Regions from separate parts of the Homo sapiens genome. Here regions 1, 3, 4, 5, 6 and 7 are each linked to region 2. Evidence: promoter capture Hi-C in 16 types of primary human blood cells and fetal thymus (Javierre and others, 2016). All regions are on one chromosome and are shown on one strand. The core of a region is centred on a gene start or on the middle of the fragment in contact, and the rest is flanking DNA. Distances in the headings are between cores, read along the strand shown.

Evidence for each region. The method cuts DNA at HindIII sites, captures the fragments that hold promoters and counts their contacts. A CHiCAGO score of 5 or more calls a contact.
Region 1: a fragment that was not itself captured here is called in contact with the fragment with the promoter of ORC4 in region 2 in 2 of 17 cell types (fetal thymus and total CD4 T cells); the score reaches 6.2 in fetal thymus.
Region 3: a fragment that was not itself captured here is called in contact with the fragment with the promoter of ORC4 in region 2 in 1 of 17 cell types (total CD8 T cells); the score reaches 7.4 in total CD8 T cells.
Region 4: a contact is called between a fragment that was not itself captured here and the fragment with the promoter of ORC4 in region 2, in 1 of 17 cell types (activated CD4 T cells). The highest score is 5.6, in activated CD4 T cells.
Region 5: a contact is called between a fragment that was not itself captured here and the fragment with the promoter of ORC4 in region 2, in 12 of 17 cell types (neutrophils, fetal thymus, non-activated CD4 T cells and 9 more). The highest score is 19.7, in neutrophils.
Region 6: a contact is called between a fragment that was not itself captured here and the fragment with the promoter of ORC4 in region 2, in 9 of 17 cell types (neutrophils, fetal thymus, naive CD8 T cells and 6 more). The highest score is 10.4, in neutrophils.
Region 7: a contact is called between a fragment that was not itself captured here and the fragment with the promoter of ORC4 in region 2, in 4 of 17 cell types (total B cells, naive CD4 T cells, non-activated CD4 T cells and 1 more). The highest score is 9.0, in total B cells.

What each region holds. Positions count from the first base shown.
Region 1 is chr2:148,693,880-148,696,579 of GRCh38, reverse strand. The region is part of intron 2 of EPC2 (enhancer of polycomb 2); the gene reads right to left. Among named protein-coding and RNA genes, the nearest start is that of EPC2, 50 kb to the right of the region's middle. The HindIII fragment of the contact is 6,770 bases long and covers 1-2,700 here.
Region 2 is chr2:148,019,294-148,021,993 of GRCh38, reverse strand. ORC4 (origin recognition complex subunit 4) reads left to right here and starts at 1,257. Exons shown (of 14, transcript NM_181741.4): 1 at 1,257-1,361. It overlaps MBD5 (methyl-CpG binding domain protein 5), which reads right to left and starts at 903. Exons shown (of 14, transcript NM_001378120.1): 1 at 310-903. RefSeq lists enhancers at 736-835, 1,015-1,612 and a silencer at 1,186-1,345. The HindIII fragment of the contact is 3,631 bases long and covers 1-2,199 here.
Region 3 is chr2:148,713,457-148,716,156 of GRCh38, reverse strand. All of the region lies in intron 2 of EPC2 (enhancer of polycomb 2), which reads right to left. Among named protein-coding and RNA genes, the nearest start is that of EPC2, 70 kb to the right of the region's middle. The HindIII fragment of the contact is 2,733 bases long and covers 54-2,700 here.
Region 4 is chr2:148,584,437-148,587,136 of GRCh38, reverse strand. No RefSeq gene overlaps it. Among named protein-coding and RNA genes, the nearest start is that of EPC2, 59 kb to the left of the region's middle. The HindIII fragment of the contact is 3,730 bases long and covers 1-2,700 here.
Region 5 is chr2:148,640,850-148,643,549 of GRCh38, reverse strand. No RefSeq gene overlaps it. Among named protein-coding and RNA genes, the nearest start is that of EPC2, 2.6 kb to the left of the region's middle. The HindIII fragment of the contact is 1,811 bases long and covers 496-2,306 here.
Region 6 is chr2:148,670,608-148,673,307 of GRCh38, reverse strand. The region is part of intron 1 of EPC2 (enhancer of polycomb 2); the gene reads right to left. Among named protein-coding and RNA genes, the nearest start is that of EPC2, 27 kb to the right of the region's middle. The HindIII fragment of the contact is 7,570 bases long and covers 1-2,700 here.
Region 7 is chr2:148,621,287-148,623,986 of GRCh38, reverse strand. No RefSeq gene overlaps it. Among named protein-coding and RNA genes, the nearest start is that of EPC2, 22 kb to the left of the region's middle. The HindIII fragment of the contact is 6,509 bases long and covers 1-2,700 here.

The sequences.
Region 1 (2,700 bases), core at 24-2,523, 670 kb before region 2:
TTGTAATCACATCATGGCTAAAATATGTGCCACTATACATCAAATTTACCTTATTATAGTGTCTTTATTCTCTCCCTGATTTCTTTAACCATGGTCTTTAATTTATTGCATTGTATTTTACTCTAAGTCACTGCAAATGCCTTTTTTTCTTTTTTGAAAAGTGGACATAAATAAATGCACATAGCCTGAAGGGGCGTTCTCCTTTAAACTCAGGCTTCTCTTTCATTTATCTCAGACTACCCAATGATTAGTTTGCTTTTCACACAATGTCTGGCATTACCTTTTTTTTCTCCTGTAGTGACAAGGTCTCACTGTGTTGTCCAAACTAGTTTTCAACTTCTGGACTCAAGTGATCCTCCCACACTGGCCTCCCAAAGTGCTGGGATAACAGGTGTGAGCCACTGTGCCTGGCCTCCTTTCATATCTATTATCTTCTAGGTTTGGAGGCTTCTCCTCCTTCCTGGATTAGTACCTACCCAGATACAACTCTACCATTTCAGCCCATGTCCACACTCACAGCTTTGCCCAAGAATAGGACACGGTTGCAGCTAGTGCACAATCTGAGGAGAGAGGAATATCCTTAGAGCTAGCTGATCTGAATGTGGGTTGCCCTCAGGGGCTGGCCTTATTCCCTGTCCCTTCTAATCACCTGAAATTGAGATCCAGCTTCACCTGTAATGTGTTCTCCACAAATCTGACAAAATCTGCTTCTGTACCCATGGCATTGTTTTACCAGTCTTTATTTATTTGAATATGTGATGTCCTTTCACAGAATTTATGTCCAATTTCTTAATACACATCCAATAGTATTTTTTTTACAAGAAAATGATGTTCCTGGAATGCATCCTTTCTACCAATAAGTCTTACTGTATAAACAAAACAATGCTCTTCATTTGTTCTGAATCCTCCCCAACTCTTTCCAATCAAAATATGTTTGCCCTGAAAGAACAGGTCAATTATCATTTTTTGCATAATGCAGAGAATATCAAAAGACATTTCCAAGGATAATGAGACTGAAGTTGGATGTCAGGCCAGCATCTATTTTAACCATGCTGAAAAACCTAGTGGTATACACAGGTCCACTTTATGTTGGTAAGTGTAACTTTTTCTCTTTTCCAATGTAGACTTGACAACAGTCAGCTTTATCAGTCTGAGGAGTCAGCTTCAAGTTGTACAGAAGTGTACAGCAGTGTCCACACACAGGCATTTTGCTAGGGCTTAAAATCTTGGAAGCAGACACAAACGGTACATTTCAATTCCCTTTGAGTGCATTCCTCTCTCTGCCTGACAGATGACAAGTTATTACTCCACCTATCCTTTCTCCTGAACTCTTCTTTCAGTCAGGACCGTCTACTGTTCTATGTTTGTAAGACTAAGGGAATGAGATGGGGGAAGTAAACTTTCATTTCAAAATAAGAAAAGAGAGTCCTGCTACCAAGAACTATTTAACTGAGTTCAAAACTGGATACAAATTAACTTCAGAATACTTAAGAAACAATGTCAGGCTGGTGCGATGGCTCACGCCTGTAATCCCAACACTTTAGGAGGCCAAGGTGGGCAGATCACGGATCATGAGGCCAGGAGTCCAAGATAAGCCTGGCCAACATGGTGAAACCCTATCTCTACTAAAAATACAAAAATTAGCCGGGCGTGGTGGCACGCACCCGTGATCCCAGCTACTCTGGAGGCTGAGGCAGAGGAATTGCTTAAACCTGGTGGGGGCGGTGAGGAAGGTTGTGGTGAGCAGATATTGCACCACTGCACTCCAGCCTGGGCAACAGAGCAAGATTCCGTCACCAGGGTTTGGGCGGGGGGAGGAGAATGTTAAGTTCCTTCGTGTTCTACAATTCCAAGATATTTAGTATCAACTGTAAAATGTTATCATATTAAATAAAACAGGTAATAGGAGATCAAATAAAGATACTATTGAAATGTAAACAAAGTTGTTTCCTTAAAGAGAAAAGTTTGGGTACTGAATTTAATAAAATTATTGAACTCCAAGAGGAATGAAAATTATAACATTTGGGTTGAGGAACCCAAAGTAAATGTAACTTAATGAAAGTAGGTAGTGTTTTTTTCTGCATGTGGCACACAACTGAAGTGTTTTACTATCTTAGGTCATCAAAGACTTTGTGCCTTCAGGATGCTTCCCACCTGGTAAAGACAGCTCAATGTGTTATGATTCAATAAATTCTGCATAAAGCTGATTAAGGGTGACTATGAAGAACTGCTACTGAAAGGGATCAGAAGGAACAAGAATGTTTGTCTCACTTTCATAACAGATTGGAGTCCACTCCCAACTCCTTCTCGGCACTTTTTGGGCTAAATTAACAGTTGGTGAATAACAGAACTCACCTTTTAATTTCTAACACAGCGGGTTGCTCAATTTCACTGTATGCACTAATAATTTTAGCCTTATATTTGATTCTGTGTACAATTTTTAGTCCAACAAATACTGATGGCTCGAAAATGCCATGGAGTATATGCTTTTAATTTCATTAATTCTTTCACTCATTTATTTATTCAGCAAATATTTAACTGCACACCTAACCACATGCTATAAGTACTGTACTAGGCAGTGAAATTCAAAGAAAAAAAAGTCCCTTCTCTCAATAAACTCTGCCCAACAGAGGGCAAACAATCACAACTGAAGGTGGTCAGTGCCACAACGAAAGTACGCACTGGACACAGGAGGGGTGG
Region 2 (2,700 bases), core at 8-2,507:
CTCATTGGAGGAAGGAGGGGGTTGTTTTTGTATTCTCCCCCACTGGAGCAAGACACAATCAGATGTTAGATGGAGGAGAGAAACCACTTTTGACAACAGCAAATAAAAATAAAAGTGCCCTTCCTCCCCTGACAGGATGGGCACCCCACCTCACACACCCCTCCCTACTCCAACCCCTCCTTCACCCCCCCCAGCACCACCCCCTCCTCACCCCGGAGCTCCACTGCGTATGTGGTTTGGTGCTACTGTTGCCCCGGAGTGAAAGTCAGAGCCAGAGGAAGGCAATGAAGCCCCCACAGACACACTTACCTTTCCTGCCCCCCACTTTTGAGTGCCTTCCCTGGAGCTGTGGAGGATGACACAAAGGGTAATAAAGGGGGGGAGTGGAGGAGGAGGAGGCGAAGGAGGAGGAGGAGAGCTGGGGAAGTGGCTGCTCCTGGGTGTAGTGAGATGTCTCCAGCCAGGGCCAAGCAGCAGCAGTAGCAGCAGCAGCAGTAGCAGCAGCAGCAGCAACAGCAGCAGCAGCAGCAACAGCAGCAGCAAAGGGTCTGTGTTGCTAAGAGGCTTTTGGTTTCTTTCTCTCCTCCTCTCACGGCCAAAGAGGAGGAGGGTGGAGGGAGGGAGGCGAGTTGGAGGGGTGAGGGGGTAGGAGTCGTGGATGGGGGTTTTCGAAGAAGAAGAAACTCCTTCTCCTCTCTCAGGCTCAATCCCCCTCTCAGGGCTCAGGGCTGGAGGGTGGGGGAAGGAACTCAGCCGCCTTCCCCCCACCCCCCTGAATTCAAGGTTGAAGTGGGGTAGAATTAGTGTCCTGTCCCTTTAAAAATAGAAATAAAAGGTGCCCCCCCTCTGCCACTGCCTCTCTCTTCATCATCAGCTGCTGCTGCTGCTGGGGTCTCTCTGCTTGGGGGGGAGGGGGGGTTCGGGTAGAAGAGACGGGAGGCACTCACTGCGCATGTCCCTCTCTGACGGGTGGCTGGTTGGTTGAAGGCAGGAGGAGGGGGAGGGGAGGAAATGAGCTATTTTCCCAGAAGGCGTCGAGGCGCTAGCGACCCGGAAGACATTGTAGCGGGAGGTACAGGAGCGGGGGCGGGGAGGAGGAGGAAGTCGCTACGCTTTTAACACCCCCAGCTCCCTCCTCCTTCCTAAGGGAAAGTGGAGGAACGGAAGTGGGCGTGGACGGAGACGAAAGGAGGTCACGTGTTTGGGCGGGAGAGGGGCGGGGTGGGAGAGGTAGTGCGTGCGCGGGGCATGCCGGGAGTGGTTGTGTACGGTCCGCAGCGGCAGGTGAAGTCTAGCAGAGGACGCGGCCAGGCGATTCGGTGAAGCGATTCCTGCAGGCGTTGGTTCCCCTCTTTGACCTGGTAAATGCAGGCTTTTATGCGAGAGGTAATGGTGGGGGTAAACTTGCTGCAAACGAAGGCCAGGGGCGTCGGTGGCGCAAGGTGAATCGAAAGTGGGAGGATGGAAGGCTGTGGAGATTGGGAATTGGGAAGGGGGCAGGCTTGTATAGGCCGGGAAGGCCAGGACCAGGCGAGCTCCGTCTTGTGGCCACTCCCGCCCCGTGAGCTTGCCGAGGAATCCTTGACAAGTGCAGGGATCCTGAGTCTACCTCTGCATCGGGGTAGTAGGTGAGGAGCGTGACGGTCCGAGTGTAAGAGAGAAGGGAACTGTGAAGCCTCAGCAATTGACCCTCATGACTGCAGGACGGAGGACTTCTATCTAGGGACAGAGACAAGTCCTCTGTATGCATTTTGACCAGATGCATCACACGCGTTGCTCATATTGGATATTGCGCCCTTCATGCCTTACCTCTCAACCCTCCCTGGTATTCTGGAGTGGCTTTGGGGAAGGAGCAGGCAGGGAAGTCTTGAGTGGAGCTTCCCTCCATGTCTTGCGTTGTTGCTACAACACAAAGCCTTTGCTTTTTCTCGGAGAGGGATGTGGGATTGTGTAGTCCTTAATGTTGAGTTCTACGATTGATGAAGGAGAAGGGACGTGATCAAAGTTTCCCCTTATAGTGTAGATGAGAGTTTTAAAAGGACTGTTTTGTCAAGTTTCTTTGGTTACTATTCTTAGTTTTTGAGCCTTTGGTTTCCCAAATGCCAGCTGTTTTTGCTGAAAATAATGAATTTCTATCATAAAATTAGAATTAACTCAAAATATTTAAGAAAGGATTTATAAATTTACATTAGTAAAGCTTTTATAGTGAAACAGTGCTGGTTCTTTTTCATTGTTTTCATACAATCAATATAAAGCATCACAGTCTCAATATGTTTTGTAAAGATATTTTGAAGGAATATCATCTTTGTATGTTTTTTAAAAACCAAGAATCTAAAATTCTTCGTATTTATTATGTTGGTACTTAATTCTGTTGGGTGGGTTCTTTTTGTTTGTTTTTTGTTTTGAGACGGAGTCTCGCTCTGTCTCCCAGACGAGTGCAGTGGCGCGATCTCGGCTCACTGCAACCTCTGTCTCCTGGGTTCAAGCAGTTCTCCTGCCTCACCCTCCCGAGTAGCTGAAACTACAGGCATGTGCCACCACGCCTGGCTAATTTTTTTGTGTTTTCAGTAGGGACGGGGTTTCACCATGTTGGTCAGGCTGGTCTCGATCTCTTGACCTCAAATGATCCTCCCGCCTCGGCCTCCCAAAGTGCTGGGATTACAGGCGTGAGCCACCGCGCCCGGCCGGTGTAGGTTCTTT
Region 3 (2,700 bases), core at 171-2,670, 690 kb before region 2:
ATGATCCTATTTCTAGAAAACCCCATCGTCTCAGCCCAAAAGCTTCTTAAGCTTATAAGCAACTTCAGCAAGTCTCATGATAGAAAATCAATGTTCAAAAATTGTTGGCCTTCCTATACACCAATAACAAGCAATCAGAGAGCCAAATCACGAATGAACTCACATTCACAACTGCCACAAAAATAATAAAATACCTGGAAATACAGCTAATAAGGGAAGTGAGGGACCTCTTCAAGGAGAACTATAAACCACTGCTCAAAGAAATCAGAGAGGACACAAATAAATGGAAAAACATTCCATGTTCATGGGTGGGAAGAATCAATATTGTGAAAATGGTCACACTGCCCAAAACAATTTATAGATTCAATGCTATTCCCATTAAACTACCATTGACATTCTTCACAGAATTAGAAGAAACTATTTTAAAATTCATATGGAACCAAAAAAGAGCCCGAGTAGCCAAGACAATCCTAAGCAAAAAGAACAAACATGAAGGCATCATACTACCTGACTTCAACTATGCTACAAGGCTATAGTAACCAAAACAGCATGATATTAGTACAAGAACAGACACACAGACGAATGGAACAGAATAGAGAACCCAGAAATAAGATCACATACATACAACCACCTGACCTCCAACAAACCTGACAAAAACAAGCAATGGGGAAAGAATTCCCTATTTAATAAATGGTGCTCGGAAAACTGGCTAGCCATATGCAGAAAACTGAAACTGGACCCCTTCCTTACACCAAAAACAAAAATCAATTCAAGATGATTAAAGACTTAAATGGAAAACCCAAAACTATAAAAACGCTAGAAGAGGCTGGGCGCAGTGGCTCTCGCCTGTAATCCCAGCAATTTGGGAGGCCGAGGTGGGCAGACCACAAGGTCAGGAGATCAAGATAATCCTGGCTAACATGGTGAAACCTGGTCTCTATTAAAAATACAAAGAAGTAGCCGGGTGCGGTGGCACGTGCCTGTAGTCCCAGCTACTCAGGAGGCTGAGGCAGGAAAATGGTGTGAACCTGGGAGGCGGAGCTTGCAGTGAGCTGAGATCGTGCCACTGCACTTCAGCCTAGGCAACAGAGCAAGACTCTGTCTCCAAAAAAAAAAAAAAAAAAAAAAAAACCCTAGAAGAAAATCTAGGCGATACCATTCAGGATATAGGCATGGGCGAAGATTTCATGACAAAGATGCCAAAAGCAACTGCAACAAAAGCAAAACTTGACAAATGGAATCTAATTAAACTAAAGAGCTTATGCACAGCAAAAGAAACTCTCATCAGAGTAAACAGACAACCTACAGAATGGGAGAAACTTTTTGCAACTTACCCATCTGACAAAGATGTAATATTCCAGCATCTACAAGGAACTTAAACAAATTTACAAGAAAAAAACAACCTGATTAAAAGTGGTCAAAGGACATGAACAGACACTTCTCCAAAGAAGACATTCATGTGGCCAACAAACATGAAAAGAAGCTCAACACCACTGATCATTAGAGAAATGCAAATCAAAACCACAATGAGGTACCATCTCACACCAGTCAGAATGGCAATTATTAAAAAGTCAAAAAACAACAGATGCTGGCAAGGTTGTGGAGGAAAAGGAACGCTTTTACACTGTTGGTGGGAGTGTAAATTAGTTCAACCATTGTGGAAGACAGTGTGGCAATGCCTCAAAGACCTAGAGGCAGAAATACCATTTGACTCAACAATCCCCTTACTTGGTATATACCCAAAGGAATATAAATCATTCTATTATAAAGATACATGAATGCATGTTCACTGCAGCACTATTCACAATACCAAAGACATGGAATCAACCTAAATGCCCATCGATGATAGACTGGCTAATGCAAATGTGCTACATCCACACCACAGAATGTTATGTGGCCAAAAAAAAAGGAACGAGATCATGCCCTCTGCAGGGACATGAATGGAGCTGGAAGCCATTATCCTTAGCAAACTAACACAGAAACAGAAAATCAAATACTGCATGTTCTCACTTAGAAATGGGAGCTGAATGATGAGAACACATGGACACATGGGGATGGGGGGAACGACCCACACTGGGGCCTGTCAGAGGGTGGGGGGTGGGAGGAGGGAGAGCATCTGGAAGAACAGCTAATGGATTCTGGGCTTAATACCTAGGTGATGGAATGATCTGTGCAGCTAATCACCATGGCACATGTTTAACTAGGCAAGAAACCTGCACATCCTGCACATGTACCCCTCAATCAAGAAATAAAAAAGAAACATTCTGACAAATGCATCTGTTAGATGATTTCATTCATTGTGGGAACATCACAGAGTGTACCTACACAAACCTAAAGGTACAACCTATGCTATATGCTGTAGCCTATTGCTCCTAGGCTACAAACCTGTAGAGCATGCTAGTGTAGGCAACTGTGAAATAATGGGAAGTATCTGTATATCTAAACATTAAACATAGATAAGGTACAGTAGAACTATGGTATAAAAGATAAAAAATGGTATATACTGTATAGGGCACATCATAAATATAGCTTATAGGATGGCAAGTTGTCTAGGTGAGTTGAGGGGTGACTGAATGCAAAGGCTTAGGACATTACACTGTTGTAGACTACACTCAGGCTACACTAAACTTAAAAAAAATTTTTTTTCTCTAATAATAAACAGCTTACTGTAACTTTTTCACTTTATAAACTTTTACTTTT
Region 4 (2,700 bases), core at 71-2,570, 570 kb before region 2:
CTGAAAAAAAAAAGAAATCCAACGATGACCAATAAGATAAGTCTTTCTGAAGTGTTATTTGACCTCTCTTGTTATTCAGTTCTTTAAAAAAATTTTTTAATTGATATATAATTCAATAAAATGTATCCATTTGAGTGTACAATTCAGTGATTTTTAGTACATTCAAAAGGTTGTGCAACCATCACCACTATCTAATTCTAGAATGCTTTCATCACCCCTAAGGAAACTCCCTATCCCCAGCTCCTGGCAACTACTAATCTACCTTCATTTCCTCCTGCTTACCTCTAGTTAATAATGCCTCTAGCCTTGGGAGGTGGTGGCCGTTAGCATCACAGGCCTTGAGAGAGTTCTGTTTCTAAGATACTTTTCTTGCTCTGCCACCACCGGTAAATGCTATTGACCAAGCAAAGAAATCCCAGGGAAGTCTCAGTAGGGCAATTACTCTTTGTCATGTAAAAAGAGAGGGTATGTGTGAGACGGCTGGTGAAGGATGAACTGATGAGCACACAGATTATTGCCTTTACTGAAGTAGAGTATTGATTGTCATGGATGGCTGAAGATCACATTCTCTAGAAGGATAAAATAGCAGGGCCATTACTTTCAGAGTTAAACAAAGGCATTTGCCATCCTAAAGTCCAAGTCTGGGTCTTCCATTTATTAGCATTATACAAAATTCTTAACTTGCTGACAATTTGCATCTGACATTTTGTTTTCATTTTAATTTTTAAAAATGTTTAAATTTTTAATTTTTGTGGGTACATAGTAGCTGTAAATATTTATGGGGTACATGAGACGTTCTGATACAGGCATGCAATGTGAAATAAGCACATCATGGAGAATGAGGTATCCATCCCCTCAAGCATTTATCCTTTGTGTTACAAACAAATTACATTTGTTTAGTTATTTAAAAATGTACAATTAAGTTATCAAATGTTAGGTGTTATTCATTCTTTCTTTTTTTTTGTACCCATTAACCATCTCCACCTCCCCACCTCAAGCCCCCACTACCCTTCCAAGCCTCTGGTAACCACCCTTCTGCTAAATGGAGCAAGACAGTTTAGGAGAGAGCTGCCTGGGTGTGAGAAGGAAGAGCAGCCCTGACATCCAGGGGTTGACATGGCACTCACAGCCAAGTCTCATTCTGTTGAACATAAACAATTTCATAAACATTAACATCAGATAAGGCCACTCTGTGATCCTGATGGCTCAACACAAAGACGAGACCACTCTCTTATGTCTGAATATGGACAAAAACATGAACATTGTCCAAACCACCAAAATAACCAAACATCCCTTTGCCCTGGCTAATACGAGTGAATGCTGTTTCCTTACTAATCCCAGCTTTAGCTTTCCTTCATTTCTCTCACCCTCTAGCAAAGTTTTATTAGGACGCCAAATCATAGAATTGCCTTGGCTCCCCGACAGCATCTATTCCAGACCAAGGCCCAGCTTCCTCAAACCTTTTTCAAAATCACATAATTCAAGCCCAAATCCTACCATATGTCCTTTCAAACACTTCTAGCTGAGATGCTTCACAGTTCTCCCTCACTGCAATGAGTAGTAAACCCAACTTGTTCATTTACAGCTGCGTTCCTGGTGATATTTGACTGGAGGACATTGACAGGAGAACAGGCAGCTTCTACAAGGATGACTTCAGGGGACCTTGGAAGGGCTGTTGCCCAAAACTATTTCACCACAGGCAATGCCTGAAATTCCATCCTGAGAATGTTATTCCTTTGGGTGAACACTTATCACCTATTAAAGTAGAAAGGTTCTTAGAGAAGAAATTACCCTTTAAATATTCTTAATCCAGCCAGGTGTGGTGGCTCATGCCTATAATCACAGCACTTTGAGAGACCAAGGTGGGTAGATTGCTTGAGTCCAGGAGTTTGAGACCAGCCTGGGCAAAAATTAGCCAGGTGTGGTGGCGCGCATCTGTAGTCCCAGCTACTTGGGGGGCTAAGACGGAGGATTGCTTGAACCTGGGAGGTGGAGGCTGCAGTGTGCCACTGCAGTCCAGCCTGGGTGACAGAGTGAGACCCTGGCTCAAAAACTAATAATAAATAAAAATAAATAAATACTCTTAATCCTAGATGTCTGATTTTGAGTAACCTACTTTCATATTTCATTTATTCTTGAAATTTCCTCACATTTTAGCATCTCAGAAATTAAGACACATCCTATGATCCATGGCATCTTAAATTCTCTGAAACATGGTGATTCTTCTGAGCTTGTTTCCTCAGTTGTGAGTTTTAGTGTTGGATTAAATACTATTTCCAAAACCTCAGTTATTCGCAAATAACTCTCACCATCTTTACTATCTGTATGTTCTACAATAATGACATTCATACCGTATTTGTTCTTTACAGCAACCCCCTTTTAAAAGGTAAGTTAATGTGGCATTTTTCTCATAATCATATCCATGAAATCCTGGGCAAGATGTGCTAGCTTTCCCTAAAAATCTAGTTGTAACTTTCCCTAATATATAAAATATACTTTATGTATTAAGATAAATACATAACTATAAAAACTTACAGAATGTTTTTTCTTTTTTTTTTTTTAATTTTTTTTTTTGAGACGGAGTCTTGCTCTGTCACCCAGGCTGGAGTGCAGTGGTGCAATCTCGGCTCACTGCAAACTCCGCTTCCTGGGTTCGAGCCATTCTCCTGCCTCAGCCTCCCCAGTAGCTGGGACTAGAGG
Region 5 (2,700 bases), core at 152-2,651, 620 kb before region 2:
GCTATTGTTGACATCAACCTGGTTTAGCCAAGAGGCTCTTGGTTAGTCTTTAAGCATTACACATTTCTCACAAAACCGTACAAAGAGAGTTTTTAACACATTTTACCATTTTCTAATAATCGATCATACTCTAACTCAGAGAAAGTCAGATGATTTCCTAAAGACCAACAGTGAAAAAATTGATTCCTACTGTCATTTCTATGTGACAATAAAACTATATCTCTTCCTCTATTACGTCCTTCTTCCCCTCCTCCACTTCCTCCCCTCCCCCTTTTTCCTCCTGTTCCTCTTCCCCTTTTCTCTCTGCAGTCTCCTCCTTTGAAGGCAGAATGGTGGATATAGTCTTCATGGTAGTGTCCAAATAGTCTAACCAGTCTGTCGCAGCAAAACTCCGAGTATTGTTTAGTGGGGCTTGAGTGTTTTTCATCCACTTTGTTGTTGGAAGCAATGGAGTTGCTGTGACTCATTTCTTGTAAGCAGTACCTTCCTCAAGCTTATGGGCATGTCCTGCTCTCTAAGTGCTACCCCTGGAACAGTTCCAATCCTCTGGAAGCAAGAACAAGAAGTTCTTGGGAGGGGGTCAGCACTGGGTTCAAGCCTGAAAGGGAAGAAAAAAGCAATAGTTGAAGAAATGAGTCATCCAGAGCTTTCATCTGGATGCCCAGCCCTCCTCAGGTTCAGAAAGGATAGCTTTCTTCTAGTCCCTATGTTTAGTTTTACTGTTTCTCTCAGAAAAGGAAATATCAAGTATGTGTAATATACCATCCATTGTAGTAACATGTTATATATATTATCTCAACTAGTTGAATTCCACTTAATTCTTATTATAATTTTATGAAAAAATATAATTTTACCAATAAGAAAACTGAGCATCAGATAATTTGCCAAATTTCAATTCCAACAACTTGCAGAACTGGGCTCAAATTCAGGTCTGACCTGACTCCAAAACTCTGGTTTTCTCAGTGGTGCTACCCTGCTATCCAAGCTCTTCAGCTTATTGACCAGTCAGCATTCTAAAGCTGCTAATTCAAAATTAGTTACTAAGACCTTCCAACCAACGGCCAAGGGAGCGCATAAGCCAGAGCCTAAAGTTGCAGTAGACCAAGGAGGGCAGGAACAACATCTGTCTGTCAATCACTGTATCCCCAGTTCCATGCCTCACATATGGCAGGCATCTAAAGTATATTTGTTGACTGATATTCCATGAAGAAATTCACTGATACTGACCCCATGCCACTCTAGTTTATAGTTCACATACCTCACTGGCCTGTCACCTGACCTAGCTATTGCTGCCAATATTTGTTCTTACTGTGGCCTACCCTGTTGTCCAGCTTTGTACCTTTGTGCATAGAGATTTTAGAACCAATTAATGTTATTCAAAAACACCTTTTTGAAACCTGGAATTTATAGGAAGGGATTTTTGCTGTTGTGGTTGTTTCTTTGTTGTTCTTTTACTTTGACCATGTAAAAGATTTCTTCCCCAAATCTCCATTTTCTTCTCACCCTGTAGGCAATGATTATAGAGCTGGGAATAAAACCATTTAAGGCAAATAACACAATATACTTTTCAACGGAGACACAGCCTGTGTTTTCTTGGCTTCCAATTCAGTGCCCAAACCGGAATGCCACTGTTCACTTTTGGAAAGTAACTTTTATTTGTATATAAATATTACTTTTCATAAAGTTTATTTCTGATTGATTTGTTGAATACTCATATAATTGTTAGTGCTAAAAGCAAAAAATATCTTCTTATAAAATAAAAAATTCTCTCATGAAATATTTTTATCAAGACCTGCCTCAAATGGGTGTGCAGCCTAATAGCCTATTTTAATTTCCACATACAATGCGCTAAGTATAGTCATTCTAAAATCAGTCCACTTCAGATATGCTCTAGACCAATTCCAAATGACATGCATTTAGCCCAGCAAGCATAATATATAAGCACCCAAGAATTAAAACCAGTTTAAAGCCATATCAAAATAAAATCACTGTCTAAATGTAGTCTAAATTAGAATAAATGTCAAATAACTGTTAGAATTAGGATTACATTCCAGTGTCCATCTCCCAGTACTATAATCAAGGCAGGCAGCTTCCAAATAATGGACAAATTACTTTTTGAAAGGAATCTTAAAACTAGTAAACACAGTTGCTATTCAACTATTTCAGAGTTTTGCAAATGTCACGTTCTTTCTAATTGGCTCCTGGTTTCAGCAAAACCATTTGAAAGTTAATTGGGTTAGTATGTGAACTGCATCTCCACCCCTCCCCCTTATGTTCCCAGGAATGAGCCTAGTACTAATAAAGCTTCGTTGTTTTCCATATGTAATCTGAATGTGGGGTCTGCATTCATTACAATCAACTGGAATCAGTTCTGTGGTTCCAGTGCCCTTTTCTGAGGCAGCTCTGCATCTTTGAGACATAGGGACAGAGACTACACTGAGAGGTGACCTGCCAAACATCTACTTCTACCTCTGCATTTGCCACCGTGGGAATAGCAGATGGTAAATAAAAATTTGTGACTGTGGCTCAGTTTCTTAGCAGCATCGCTCCTCTCAGACCTGGTTGGAATCACAGGGTGCCACCTTGTGTATAAGCTGACGATTTACTTCCCAGCTCCACAAAGGATCCAAATAGACTCCAAAATAATCAGCCTGAAAGCTCTGCATTTTGGTAACTAAAAAAAAAAGAAACAGATTTGAA
Region 6 (2,700 bases), core at 49-2,548, 650 kb before region 2:
CTTAAGAAGGTTAGAGAGAGAAGGGACAGAGAGCTTATTTGAAGAAATAATGGCAAAAATTTCCCAAATCCAATTAAGGAAATGGACATCCAAATTCAGGAAGCTCAAAGGACTCCAACTAGAATAGCCCAACAACACACACACTGAGAAACATTATAATAATTATAATCAAGTTATCAAAAGTCAAAGACAGAGAATCTTGAAAGTAAGAGAAAAACAACTTGTCATGTACAAGGGAGAGCTCATAGATTTATCAGTGCATTTCTCAGCAGAAACGTTACAGCTCAGGAAACAGAGTAATATATCCAAAGGACTGAGAGAAAAAAACTGTCAGAACAGAATGATATATCTGACAAAATGTTCTTCAAAAATGAAAGACAAATAAAAACCTCCCAGATAAGTAAAAACTGAGGGAGTTCATCGCTACTGACCCTTCCTATAAAAATTGCTAAAGGGAGTCCTTCAAGTTGAAACAAAAGGATGCTAGACAACAACAAGAAACCACGCAAAAATATAAAACTTAGGTAAAAGTAAATATATAGGCAAATAGAGAACCTATACTACTGTAATAGTGGTATGCAAATTATTTTAATTTCTGGTATACAACTTAAAAGACAAAAACATTTTTAAAAAACTATGTTAATGCATACAAAACACAAAAAATATAATTTTGACACTATAATATTAAGCGGTGGTGAGCAAAAGGCATAGTTTTTGTATACAAAAATAAATTGCTTTTAAGTTTTTAGACTGTTGCCACTGTAAGATGTTTTATGTAATCCCCATGATGATCACACCACAAATACCTTCAAGAAAATTAATGAAAGAAATAAAAGTATGTCACTATAAAAAACAAAATCAACGAAGCACAAAGGGAAGTCAGCATGTGAGAGATAGAGTAGATGAATGGCGTGAAAAACAAAAAGACTCCGACCACATGCTATCTACAAGAGATTCACTTTAGACATAAGGACAAACATAGCCTGAAAGTGAAAAGATGGAAAAAGATATTCCATGTAAATGGTAACCAAAAGAAAGCAGAGATGTCCATACTTCTATCAGACAAAAGAGACTTTAGTCAAAAACCATCAAAGACATAAAGATACATAAAGACAAATGAGTTAATTCACCAGTAATATATAACAATTATAAGACTTACTTTTAAGTACTTCTTATAATTAAGAAGACTGAGTCAGTAATCAAAACACCTCTCAACAAAGAAAAGCCTAGGACCAGATGGCTTCACTGGAGAATTTTACCAAACATTTCAAGAAGGATGGACACAAATCCTTCTCAAACTCAAAGATACTTTAAGAAAACTATAGGCCAATATCCCATACATATTCAGGCATATCAACAAATGTGAATGAATTTAACTCACCTACTAAAACAAAAAGGTTTTCAATTTGGCTTGTAATCCAAGGCTCAACTATACACTGTACACCAAAAAAAAAAATTCCTCCTCTAAATGAAAATAATGCAACTAAAAATGCAAGGAGGAAGAGGAAAAAATAGAATAAGCTGAATTTTTGTGAGCTTACTCAAAGATGGTTAAGAAAGGGTAAAAATAAAGGGACGGACAAAAGTTTACCAGGTAAATGGAGACAATAAGAAATGCAAGCAGATCCTAATACAAGTAGAATTCAAGCCAAAGAAAATTAAATATGACCATAGAAAAGATGACTTTTTTTGGGGGGATGGGGTCTTGCTCTGTTGCCCAGGCTGGAATGCAGTGGCACAATCTCAGCTCGCTGAAACCCCCACCTCCCAGGTTCAGGCAATTCTCCTGCCTCAGCCTCCCGAGCAGCTGGGATTACAGGTGCACACCACCATGCCTGACTAATTTTTATATTTTTAGTAGAGACAGGGTTTCACCATGTTGGCCAGGCCAGTCTCAAACTCCTGATCTCAAGTGATCCGCCTGCCTCGGCCTCCCAAAGTGCTGGGATTACAGGCATGAGCCATCATGCCCAGCCAAAAAGATGACTTTTTAATGCTACAAAAAAAAAAAAAAAAAAAATCACAATCCACAATAGAGATTTAGCATTTATGATTATTTTTACAGCAAGTAATGAAGCAAACATTTTATGAAGCAAAAGCTACCAGATATGCAAGTACCAATAAATAAAAACACACTAATAACAGCAAACTTTAATATACCACTATCAGCATAAAACAAATCAAGTGAACACCTAAGCAACTTAATAAGGTTGATCTTAAACCTATATATCAGACTTTATGCCCAAATGGCCCCTCCTTCCCAAGTACCCAAGAAACCATCATAAAAATTGTTCATGTATTAGTCAAGAATGAGAAAGAATAGGGGCTGGGTGCAGTGGCTCACACAGTAATCCCAGCACTTTCAGAAGATGAGAAAGGAAGACTGCTTAGCCTAGGAGTTCAAGACAAGCCTGGGCAACATACTGATGTCTAGTCTCCACAAAAAATAAACAAAAATAGGTGGCACGTGCCAGCTACTTGGGAGGCTGAGGTGGAAGGATTGCTTGAGCCTGGAAGTTGAGGCTGCAGAAATCTTGCCACTGTACTCTAGCCTGGGCAGCAGAGTGAGACCGAGGGGAAGGGAGGGGACAGGGAAGAGGAGAGAGAATAGACAAGGGAGAGGAGGGGAGAGGAAATTTTTCTAAGCATACTGTTTGTAGAGTTCCAAATTTTAGAACCACGTTTGACATGCTCAAAAAA
Region 7 (2,700 bases), core at 52-2,551, 600 kb before region 2:
GAGAGAGAGAGAGAGAGAGAGAGAGAGAGAGAGAGAGAGAGAGAGAGAGAGAGAGAGAATGAACTATATAGATAAAGTGGGCCGCCTGCAATGAGCTGTGGCCTTCAGAAGAAGGATGCAGTGACCAGGCAGTCAGACAGCACAGAAAATAAATCAACGCCCAACTTCTTCACTCTCCCCGGCCCCCACATCTGCTGTTGCTCCTCATTGGTAGCAATCAAGTCCTGAAGCAGGCAAAATTGCCTGCTGATTCAGTCCACAAAGATGAGTCCCTTGGGGGCCCAAGAAAAGGAGAAGAAGGATGGAAACAGGAGACGGGAGGGTGGCAGAAAATATCCAGCACGTCCATTGTGTACCACTTTCAGAGGGTGGACCACAACCTTATTTCAGACTTGACACCAACAATTTGTAAAATAGCATTGAATTTGGGACATAGTGTTTTTACTGGGAGATGGTATATAAAGTAGATGCAACATAAAGAAATCCTACATGTCTGTCTCAGAGACTTGATAATTTAGTCTTAGCCATTGTATTGGCTCAGACTAAAAACTAGGCTAGCACCAACCTCCAAGCCCCCTGTGACACTCTTGAGCATGGCTGCAGGAAAGAGACTGAAGGAATAAAACTTAACTATACCACCACCTCTCTCCTTTAGGGGTGTGACAGGATCACACAATACCATCATAAATCTTCTCTTTCATTTTGCTATGAAGGAAGTAGAAGAGGCAGAAGTTAAAAAAAAAAGAAAAAAAGCCATGGCCTGAGATATGAGTGAAAGTTTGAGCCTTGTTTTTTTGTTTTTTTTTGTTTTTTTTTTCAGGGAGGGAGGGAGTAAGAGAAGCAGTTGCTGTTAGGATGAGAGGGACCTTGGGGCAATAGATGAGTAAAAAGGAATGTTAGGTTGTTTGACTGTGTGTCATTCAATATTACATTCTTTTCCCTTTGGAATTTTCTAAAACACCTAACAAAGGATTTAAGTTGCATCCCAGTATTTTATTTGAAGAAGAAAGTGGATAGAGACCCCAAGTTATCCTAGCCTTAATTTAGGCTACAGAAGCAAAGAACAGATGGCCATCTGGACAGAGAGCCTTTTCTAGGAGGAAAGTACAAAAAGCATGGGAACTCAGAGATGCCAGCCTCTGTAGGCTAGCATGTAGGGCTAGGTGAACTCTTTTACCCTCATCCCCATTTTCCAGGAAGAGAAAACACTTTCATCAAGTGTAATATGAAGGGTTTATGGGCGAAGAAGTACAGCTCAGCTCAACATACTAATAGACTCAAATATTAAGGAATGGGTTGGCAGCCACACTTACAAATAGACTCCCTTTCAAGATAACAAAGACTACTAGGGATGACTGTACTTGCTGTCTGAGATCAAGCCTTGGCTTCTGCCTGTCCCATCATCTCTTGAGTCCTGATCTGGGCCTGTTGCCCATGTTCCCATCTGTCCTGCTCACTGCTTGGCACTCTTTCCCATTCATAACCTCAGCCTCCACGTGTTTGTGCCTTTGATGAGCCCCTTCTGCAAACTCTAGCCCTAGCATGTGTGTGAATTCCAAGTTGTGATAACTGCTTTTCTCAACAATATATTTCTTCCAGTCTTGTTCGAAATTCTTGACACTATCTTGGCTCTGCATATATACTATTCCTATAGCATAACCAGAAGCTGCCGGGATCTGATGCTAAACCAAGTTAAGAGCACATCAGCCTGGCCAAGGCCGACTATCTCAAATTCCTGCAAACCAATATTGTATCACTGATATTTATTGGATTTTTTCCTATAAGCCCAGCACTTTGCATCAATTATCTCGTGTGAACATACCTATATGTAAGACAGTACTACCTTTCCTGTTTTATAGATGAAAATACCAAGAACGACAAGGGTTGAGTGACTTTCATAAGGTCAGGTAGCCTGCTGGTGGAGCTGGGGTTGGAACCCAGGCATTCAGACTTCTGAGCCTGTGATTCGACCACTATGCTACATGTGCCCAGAATGTGTCTCATCCTCCAGAAAGGAGATGACCCGGGACCTTCACATAAGCCATGCCTTCTGGTCTGGAGCACCTTCCCTCATGCTGTACATGATGGGCTCCTTCTCGCCCTTCAAGTCTGTTTCCATATGTCCTACTCATAGAGGCCTAGACTGTCTCTCCTGTTTGTATACATCCTGTTCTTCTCCTTCGTTGCATTTATCTCAATAAATATTCCTTGGCATGTTTACTATCTAATGTCTTGTCTTGCTCTGCAAGTGATGGGACTGGGTATGTTTTGCTCAGCACCATATTCCAACACTCATCTCAGCAACTGACCCACAGTAGACATCACACCTTTCAAATAGACAAATAAATGAATAGACTCCCTTCTGGTATTCTCATCTTAGAACCTTGCAAAGTTTCATATACTATCTAAATTATTGAGTCTGTGGCAAATGCTTTTTACTGTTTGCTTATTGCTGAGAAGGCAAACTTCTTTTCCTCTGAGGGTAGGTTTTACTTATTTATAGATAAAAGTCTTTTGAGGTCCAATTTGCAATGAGCAAGTTTGTCACAATCAGGTAATCTAACGTCAGTTCAAAATGCCTTGTGATTATAAAGTGGTAAGATCATGCGTGTGTGGCCTGCAGCAGAGGGGTGCTGATGGCTGCCTAATGTCAGCAGTCCTAAGCAGTGTACAGTCTACAGGGCGCGACTCAATTGGTTG